2 separate regions of the Homo sapiens genome follow, and region 1 is linked to region 2. The links are contacts of gene promoters, found by promoter capture Hi-C in blood cells and fetal thymus (Javierre and others, 2016). All regions are on one chromosome and are shown on one strand. The core of a region is centred on a gene start or on the middle of the fragment in contact, and the rest is flanking DNA. Distances in the headings are between cores, read along the strand shown.

Evidence for each region. Contacts are between HindIII fragments. The CHiCAGO score rates a contact against its expected background, and 5 or more counts as called.
Region 1: a contact is called between a fragment that was not itself captured here and the fragment with the promoter of TYMS in region 2, in 1 of 17 cell types (fetal thymus). The highest score is 5.3, in fetal thymus.

The regions. Positions count from the first base shown.
Region 1 is chr18:2,588,003-2,592,506 of GRCh38, forward strand. NDC80 (NDC80 kinetochore complex component) reads left to right here. Exons shown (of 17, transcript NM_006101.3): 9 at 1,202-1,308; 10 at 2,016-2,160. Among named protein-coding and RNA genes, the nearest start is that of NDC80, 19 kb to the left of the region's middle. RefSeq lists an enhancer at 1,132-2,331. The HindIII fragment of the contact is 1,806 bases long and covers 1,416-3,221 here.
Region 2 is chr18:654,278-658,902 of GRCh38, forward strand. It overlaps TYMS (thymidylate synthetase), which reads left to right and starts at 3,376. Exons shown (of 7, transcript NM_001071.4): 1 at 3,376-3,670. The coding sequence starts at 3,466. It overlaps TYMSOS (TYMS opposite strand RNA), which reads right to left and starts at 4,014. Exons shown (of 2, transcript NR_171001.1): 1 at 3,565-4,014. RefSeq lists enhancers at 3,100-3,601, 3,602-4,101, 3,969-4,088 and silencers at 3,339-3,518, 3,689-3,738. The HindIII fragment of the contact is 8,200 bases long and covers 1-4,625 here.

The sequences.
Region 1 (4,504 bases), core at 1,069-3,568, 1.9 Mb after region 2:
AGTGTTCATATGAGCTACTTACTTTAAATGTATCTGGATGCCTACTGATTTTTATCTTTGTGGTTTCTTTGGTGGAGAGAAGTTAAACAAAAAGAATACTAGTGTTGGAGCCAGACCTGAGCCATAACATCTTACTGTCTGTGGCGCCTTAATAAAATACTTGACCTCCTGACAAAGTGTAGCAGCAGTAGATGACAGTATAATAAAGTCATAATATACCAAACATGCTACCAGAAGCATAGACAATAATTAGCAAATGCTATTCCTCTTGGGGGATAATATCCCTACGTTGTCCTTGCTTACTATTTGAGAAATTAAAGCACCAATTAGTCAAAAGACCTAAGGTCTCTTTCAAAATTTGTGGCAAAAAGTTAACAAGACATTATACTTCCAAATATGTAAGGAAAATCTTTTTTTTTTTTTACTCATTTACAACCTAGTGACATACAGTATTTACTAGATAACTCTAAAACATTCCAGAGGTATTATTTTACATTTTCATTCTTTCTATTGAAATAGTCTTGTATATAAAATGCCAAAATGGAAGGTAAAATAGATAAATGGAGGTGAAGCTATTCCTCCAACAATGGAATCAATCACTTTGCCAGTATTATCACAAAAGCTGAAAGCATTCCCTTATAGTCCCCTGGGATTGTATCTTCCTGAAGAGTAACCAGGACAATTTCAGCTTGTTCACATGGGAAAGGGAGCAAAATAAATGGCTTTGTTTTAAGAGAGGAAAATTTAGAGTGATCTAAGCATCTAATGAGTAATTTGATATTTCTGTATATAATTAACCAAGCATAAAAACTGCATTCATTTATTCAAATAAATATTTTTTGTATACCTACTATGTGCCAGCCACCATTTAGGCACTGAGGATACAGTAATGAATAGGATAAAAACCTCTGCCCTTATGAGCTTACATTTTAGTAGACAGAAAGAGGAAAATAATGAAATGAGCAACTTTAAGTCAAATGGTGATAAGCGCTTTGGAGAAAAATCAAGCAGGACAAGGAGAGTCGAAGTACGGTGGAGTAATGGAAAGGGTTTGCTGTTTTACAAGGATGGGATGTACTTCACTAATAGTGTTTTGGGCAGAGACCAGAAGGAAGTGAGGGAGGGAGTAATGGTGAAAACTTGGGAAAGAATGTTCTAGGCGGATTTGAGGTCTTAAAAAGCTTTTGGATTTTGTCTCCAGAGGATTTATTTAATGTGGATGCTTTTAAGCTGGAATCATTAGAAGCAAAAAACAGAGCATTGAATGAACAGATTGCAAGATTGGAACAAGAAAGAGAAAAAGAACCGGTTAGTAAACATGTTTACACACTTACTTGAGAGCTCTTTTAGACTTTTGGGTGTCCTTGGATATTAGCTGTCTTTATCAAAATTTTAAAAAATAGATTAACAAATTAAGCTTCTTAAAAGTTAAATTTTCACCTAGAAACTCCCAATGAAAACATGTTTGGTATCTGTGGAGCCTTGTTTTCCCTTGCGGTCTATCAGTCTTAGACTAATGGTGCTCTGGATATGATGAAAGATTCTTACCTACTTACATAAGATCAAAAGTACTTTTGAACAAAGGCCCTGTGTTATATACCTCTAGGGAGCATTAGTCACAAGAAGCCCTGAGTTTTGGAGGTAGTGCAAAAGGAATGGTTAATAAATGGGTTTATATAGTATATTGTATCCTGAGTTTTCTAAAAGCTAAATATTAATATCCAGTTATCTAACTTTATTTTCTGCATTATTAGTGAAGCACTCAAACTGTTGTTGTAAAATACCAGATTTTAAATATTTGTGCTTTTTCAACCCTAGCAATTGTGGTTTTTTTTTTTTTCTATTTCAAACTGACAGTGTAGTCCCCTTTTAGTTCTTTTGACTTCCTCTAAAAATGAAAGGAAAACTCAAATCTACCTTTCTCTAAAATAAATTTAAATAATATTGCTTTACTTTAAAATAAAATATGGAATGGTTATTAAGAATAACTAAAGTTATATTCTTTTCTCTTAAAGAATCGTCTAGAGTCGTTGAGAAAACTGAAGGCTTCCTTACAAGGAGATGTTCAAAAGTATCAGGCATACATGAGCAATTTGGAGTCTCATTCAGCCATTCTTGACCAGAAATTAAATGGTCTCAATGAGGAAATTGCTAGAGTAGGTAAGCAGAGCTAATGCTAAAAGACTGGGATGCGAACCTGTGTGGGATTTGTCACATGTAAAAACAGCTTTGTTATCCATATCTTTTGTTGTTCTGTGGTACATGCTTAGAGCAGGCTACCAAGTTTTCAGTGTGTTTCGTATTTGTTTCCTAAGGCTGCTGTCACAAATGATCACAAGTTTGGATGGCTTAAAACAACAGAAATGTATTATCGCACAGTTCTAGAGGCTGTTCCAGCAGATCTGCATCCCTCCAAGGACTCAGGGAGGATCTATTCCTTGCCTCTTGCAGCTTTTAGTGGCTGGCAGCATTACTGGGCTATGTTCACATCACTCCGATCTCTGCCTCCATCTTCACATTGCCTTCTCCTCTGTGTTTGTACTCTACTACCTGTGTGAAATATCTCCCTCTGCCTCTATCTTATAAGGACATTTGAGATGAGATTTAGGGCCCACCTGGATAATAATACAGGGCTCTCTCTTCATCTCAAGATACTTAATCACATCTGCAAAGACCCTTTTCCCAAATAAGGTAATTTCACAGTTTCCAGAGATAGAACTTTATATATTTAGGTGGCCATTGTTCAACCTACTACTCCTTACATGTTTTCAAGCATTTGGCTTTTTGAAGCCAAGAAGGACCCAACCTAAGAAAACATGCTGCCTGAATATAGAAATATATAAAAATTCTATACAAATATATACTGTATTCCACTTTGTGGTTAATAAGCCAGATAAACCAGATTCTTTTGTTTTTTTTGAGATGAAGTCTTGCTATTTTGCCCAGGCCAGTCTCGAACTCCTGGGTTCAAATAATCCTCCCACTTCAGTCTCCCACGTAGCTGGGACTATAATAGGTGGGCTCCACCATGCTTGGCTCTAATAAGCCAGATTCTTGATGTCTGCCTGCCTCAGTCTGCTATAACTGGCTATCCTCCATCACTACCGCCTAAGCACCTCAGCAGCTGAAACTGATTGAAAATCAAAATTAAAGCTGCAAGTACTACAGTTCTCGGGGAAAAGAGCAACCAAAGAAAGCTCTTTTATGTCTTATGTCTTGTAAGCTTACTTTCATAAACACAGCAATCTTAATCATAAAATTCTGTAAAACACTATGGCACATGCAATTGCTTGATTCTTCTGCAGTGCCTGAAGGAGAGTAAAGAAAGGTATCTGCAAGTCACAGAGCCACTGGGCTGTACTTTTAAAAATAAATTTATTGACAACTATACTGTTTTCCCAGGACTTTGCCTACTTCTGTTTGTTTCTTTTGGGATTTTGCTGGCTGTGTCTGTCCCACATGGGAGTTGTATACATGGCCCTTAGGATATTTGATTTAACTCTTAGTCTATGGAGTATTGATTGTCAACTCAAGACTAGTAATTACCAGGGTTATTTGCTGAATCTGTTTTTTTTTTCCAAATAACTCTGATTTATATATATATATTGGATTTGCTCTAAACCAACTCTTTAAATATATTAACTACTTTACACTTGGCCCCTAATCAATGTCCTTTGTTTATTCTTCATGATGACAAAGAAGCTTGGACTAAATTATTATTATAATAATTTTTATAATGCAATTAATCAATACTTTTTTTTTTTTTTTTTGAGATGTAGTCTTGCTGTGTCACCCAGGCTGAAGTGCAGTGGCACCATCTCCGCTCACTGCAACCTCCGCCTCCCGGGTTCAAATAATTCTTCTGCCTCAGCCTCCTGAGTAGCTGGGATTACAGGTGCACGCCACCATGCCCGGCTACTTTTTTGTATTTTTAGTAGAGACGGGGTTTCACCATGCTGGCCAGGCTGGTCTCAAACTCCTGACCTCGTGATCCACCTACCTCGGCCTCCCAAAGTGCTGGGATTGCAGGCGTGAGCCACAGCACCCGGCCTTTAATCAATACTTTCTAATACTAATACTTTATCTTTCTTGTCAGCATATGATCAAGAGAATTGTCATACATCCTTCTTGTTCTTGTGAGAACTTTTTCTGATAGCTGCAAACTCAGTAGGTGAGAGAGAAATACTTAATCATTTGCCATTCCAGAGTGATTTAGTTTGAGACATTAATTTTATAACTGTTAATCTAAGATGTTTTTATTCTATGAGTGTTTGAACTTTCTTGATTATGTAAAGCCATTCATGGCATGAGTGGATGAGACATATTTAAATTTTATTTTGTTTTTGTTTTATTTTGTTTTTTTTTTTTTGAGAGACAGAGTGTCACTCTGTCGCCCAGGCTGGAGTAGAGTGGCTCAATCTTGGCTCACTGCAACCCTCGCCTCCGGGGTTCAAGCAAGTCTCCTCCCTCAGTTTCCCAAGTAGCTGGGACTACAGGAGTGCAC
Region 2 (4,625 bases), core at 2,126-4,625:
CAGCCTGGCTAACATGGTGAACCTCCATCTCTACTAAAAATACAAAAACTAGCTGGGCATGGTGATGGGTGCCTGTAATCCCAGTTACTCGGGAGGCTGAGGCAGGAGAATTGCTTGAGCCTGGGAGGCAGAGGTTGCAGTGAGCTGAGATTCTGCCACTGCACTCCAGCCTGGGTGACAGAGCGAGACTCCGTCGAAAAGAAAAAAAGAAAGAAAGAAAAAAAACACACAAGGATGTGCAACTGATGCAGGGCAGGTGAGCCCAGAATTGGGCTTAGCTCAGGAGGGTTCTTGGTTTTGCTCAGGAAAGAATTTAAGAGCTACCTGGTAGAAGAAAAGCTCTACTGATATGGCAACAGCTCCCTGAGTGCCCCTGTAGAGCAGAGCTACCCTATAGGCAGTGTGCTGACAGCAGTAGCTTAAAGGCAGGTCTGCAGTGATATTTATAACCTACTTTCAATTACATGCAAATTAAGGGGCAGATTATGCAGAAATGTCTAGAAAAAGGGTGGTAACTTCCGGTTGTCGGCTCACTGCCATGGAAAGGGGCAGTAAGCTCTGGATGTTGCCATGACAATCGTAAACTGACATGGCACACTGGTGGGCACGTCTTATGGAAAACTACTTCTGCCCCATCCTTGTTTTGACTACTCCTCAATTTGGTCCCATGTCAGAGCCCTGCCTCCAGAGTCAAGCCCTGTCTACCTCACAATTATTATGTATCAGGTTTTTAAAAAATAACACAAGTAAGGCTGGGCATGGTGGCTCACGCCTTTAATCCCAGCACTTTGGGAGGCCGAGGTGGGCAGATCACTTCAGATCAGAAGTCTGAGACAAGCCTGACCAACATGGTGAAACCCTGTCTCTCCTAAAAATGCAAAAAAAAAAAAAAAGAAAAAAAAATTAGCTGGGCATGGTGGCAGGCGCCTATAGTTCCAGCTACTTGGGAGGCTGAGGCAGAATTGCTTGAACCCATGCAGCGGAGTTTGCAGTGAGCTGAGCACCACTGCACTGCAGCCTGAGGGACAGAGCAAGATTCCACCTCAAAAAAAAAAAAAAAAAAAAAAAAGGAAAAAGAATAACACAAGGAAATTAAACACAGATAACGTGCATCTGGATAATCTGGAATATTTTCAGCCTGGGATCTTCCTCGTGCTCGGAAACGTGTAGGGAAACGTGTAGGGACAGTTTTCAGCTGGTGTGGGGTGGGGGAATGCCAACATATGGTTGGCTTTCCACAGTCCTGCTAAAGCCCTGCAATGTGCAGAACAAACCGGTCCAGCTAAGAAAAGTCCCACCCAAAATGCTGAGAGCACCTCTGTACTCAATCAACCGTTGAGGTAAAAGGATGCTTGCAAGTACAACACATGTATCAGTGCATTTTAAACTCATTATAAAATCGTTCTGTAAACCAAAAATAAAATTCTACGCCCAGAACCATCTGAAAAGACCACTCCTCTGGGTCAAAGGCATTCCAAATTTAACCACAAAAACTAGTTCAGGCCATGATGGGAAGGGGAGCCAGACATGCCTCATTATTCCCTCCTCCGTTTGGAATTTAGGCACAGCTGACCAGCATTGACATCAACACAGGCCTCAAGACAGGTAGAACACACTCTTTAAGTCTGACAAGAAACATTTACAATCTATCTCTCTAAAGCCTGCTACCTGGAGGTTTAATCTGCATGATGAATCCATGGTCTCCACAACCCCTTATCTTAACCCAGATATTCCTTTCTATTCATTCAAATCTTTTTTTTTTTTTTCCCCATACGGCTCTGTCACCCAGACTGGAGTGCAGTGGCGCTTTCTCAGCTACTGCAAGCAACCTCCGCCTCCTGGGTTCAAGCGATTCTCCTACCTCAGCCTCCTGAGTACCTGGGGTTACAGGCGTGTGCCACCTCGCCCCACTAATTTTTGTATTTTCAGTAGAGAGGGTTTCACTATGTTGGCCAGGATGGTCTCAATCTCCTGACCTCGTGATCTGCCCGCCTCGACCTCCCAAGTGCTGGGATTACAGGCGTGAGCCACCGCGCCCAGCCCTCTATTGATTCCAGATCTTTAGATAACAATTCTTTCAACCAAATGTATAAAAAATCAAGTTGTAGCCCAACCACCTTGGGGACATGTTCTCAGGATCTGCTGAGGGCTCTATCACCGGCCATTGGTCACTCATATTTGGCTCAGAATAAATTTCTTCAGATATTTTACAGAGTTTAACTCTTTTCATCAACAGTTCCCACTCCCCAGTGTTAATGTTATAAACAATTCAGTAAAACTGGGAAATGTGGTCTATTAAAAACTTGGGGCCGAGTGCGGTGGCTCACGCCTGTAATCCCAGCACTTTGGGAGGCCAATGTGGGTGGATCACCTGAGGTCAGGAGTTTGAGACCAGCCTGGCTAACATGGCGAAACCCCGTCTCTACTAAACATGAAAAAAAAAAATTAGCCGGGCGTGGTGGCGGCGCCTGTAGTCCCAGCTACGCGAGAGGCTGAGGCAGCAGAATTGCTTGAACCCAGGAGGCGGAGGTTGCAGTGAGCCGAGATCGCACCATTGCACTCCAGCCTGGGTGAGAGAGCGAGACTCTGTCTCAAAAAAAAAAAAAAAAGACCGCCAGGGCTCAAACAAAAAACCTCGGAAAAGCCCTGGCGGTCTTTTTTTTTTTTTTTTTTTTTTTTTTGGGACAGTCTTGCTCTGTCGCCCAGGCTGGAGTACAATGGTCGGATCTTGGCTCACTGCAACCTCTGCCTCCCAGGTTCAAGCAATTCTTCTGCCTCAGCCTCCCAAGTAGCCACCACGCCCAGCTAATTTTTGTACTTTTAGTAGAGACGGGGGTTTCACCATGTTGTCCAGGCTGGTCTTGAACTCCTGACCTCAGGTGATCCACCCGCCTCGGCCCCCCAAAGTACTAGGATTACAGGCGTGAGCCACCGCGTCCAGCGCCCTGGCGGTTTTTAATCAAGTAGAAAAGCTGCATTATACCACTTGCTTCGGTTGCTTCAGTGAGAACGAAGAAATGGAAATGCAAATCCCTTATTAGTTGTAGGAAACAGATCTCAAACAGCAGTTTTGTTGACAAGACCGCAGGAAAACGTGGGAACTGTGCTGCTGGCTTAGAGAAGGCGCGGTCGACCAGACGGTTCCCAAAGGGCGCAGTCCTTCCCAGCCACCGCACCTGCATCCAGGTTCCCGGGTTTCCTAAGACTCTCAGCTGTGGCCCTGGGCTCCGTTCTGTGCCACACCCGTGGCTCCTGCGTTTCCCCCTGGCGCACGCTCTCTAGAGCGGGGGCCGCCGCGACCCCGCCGAGCAGGAAGAGGCGGAGCGCGGGACGGCCGCGGGAAAAGGCGCGCGGAAGGGGTCCTGCCACCGCGCCACTTGGCCTGCCTCCGTCCCGCCGCGCCACTTGGCCTGCCTCCGTCCCGCCGCGCCACTTCGCCTGCCTCCGTCCCCCGCCCGCCGCGCCATGCCTGTGGCCGGCTCGGAGCTGCCGCGCCGGCCCTTGCCCCCCGCCGCACAGGAGCGGGACGCCGAGCCGCGTCCGCCGCACGGGGAGCTGCAGTACCTGGGGCAGATCCAACACATCCTCCGCTGCGGCGTCAGGAAGGACGACCGCACGGGCACCGGCACCCTGTCGGTATTCGGCATGCAGGCGCGCTACAGCCTGAGAGGTGACGCCGCGGGCCCCTGCGGGACGGGTGGCGGGAAGGAGGGAGGCGCGGCTGGGGAGAGCGCTCGGGAGCTGCCGGGCGCTGCGGACCCCGTTTAGTCCTAACCTCAATCCTGCGAGGGAGGGGACGCATCGTCCTCCTCGCCTTACAGACGCCGAAACGGAGGGTCCCATTAGGGACGTGACTGGCGCGGGCAACACACACAGCAGCGACAGCCGGGAGGTAAGCCGCGTCCCAGCGGCTCCGCGGCCGGGCTCGCAGTCGCCCCAGTGATGCCGTGGCCCCCGAGGCGGGCGTCATCGGGCAGCGTTTGCCCAGTGCTGGAGGGTTAGGGAGAGCTGCCTGGGCTTGACCGCGCGCCGGTCTCAAAGTCCTGGCTTTGGCCCCTCCTCCGTTTTCCCCTGTGGACCATTCCGCTTCGCAGCGTTTTCAAAAACTGGAGCGAAAGTGATGTGGGCGGGGCAAAGGCGGCGGGAAGAGGAGAGCACTGAAGCTGGCGCGGGAACTTGGTTTCCTGGTGGCCTCCCATCCAATCCCCACGAACCAGCTTTCCTCTTAAACCTTGAAAAGAGAAATTCGGGAGTTCGAGTATAAGTTCTTAGTCGTCCTTTCCTCTTTCCTTTCCGACAGGAGCACCCCAGGCAAAAAATGTCTCGCGGGTCATTGGCGCCAGGCTTTCAGGGGACAGTGGGGCGGGGCGGGGTGGGCACAGGACGTTAGGCAGCCGTTGGCCCTCCCTAAGGCCACACCGTCCTGCCGTCCTGGATCCTGCGCCAGCTGCGCGGGGGAGGGGACTCGAAGGTGTGTGAGCCAGGGGCTGACCTTGACCGCTCAGATAAATGGAGCGCAGCCTTGACACAGGGGTGGAGGTGGTTTTGAATGGGGAAACCCATTCGTGGTGAAGCAGATTCACTGTAGCTAGCGGAAAAGCCCTCCGGCCCACGGACCCATCTAG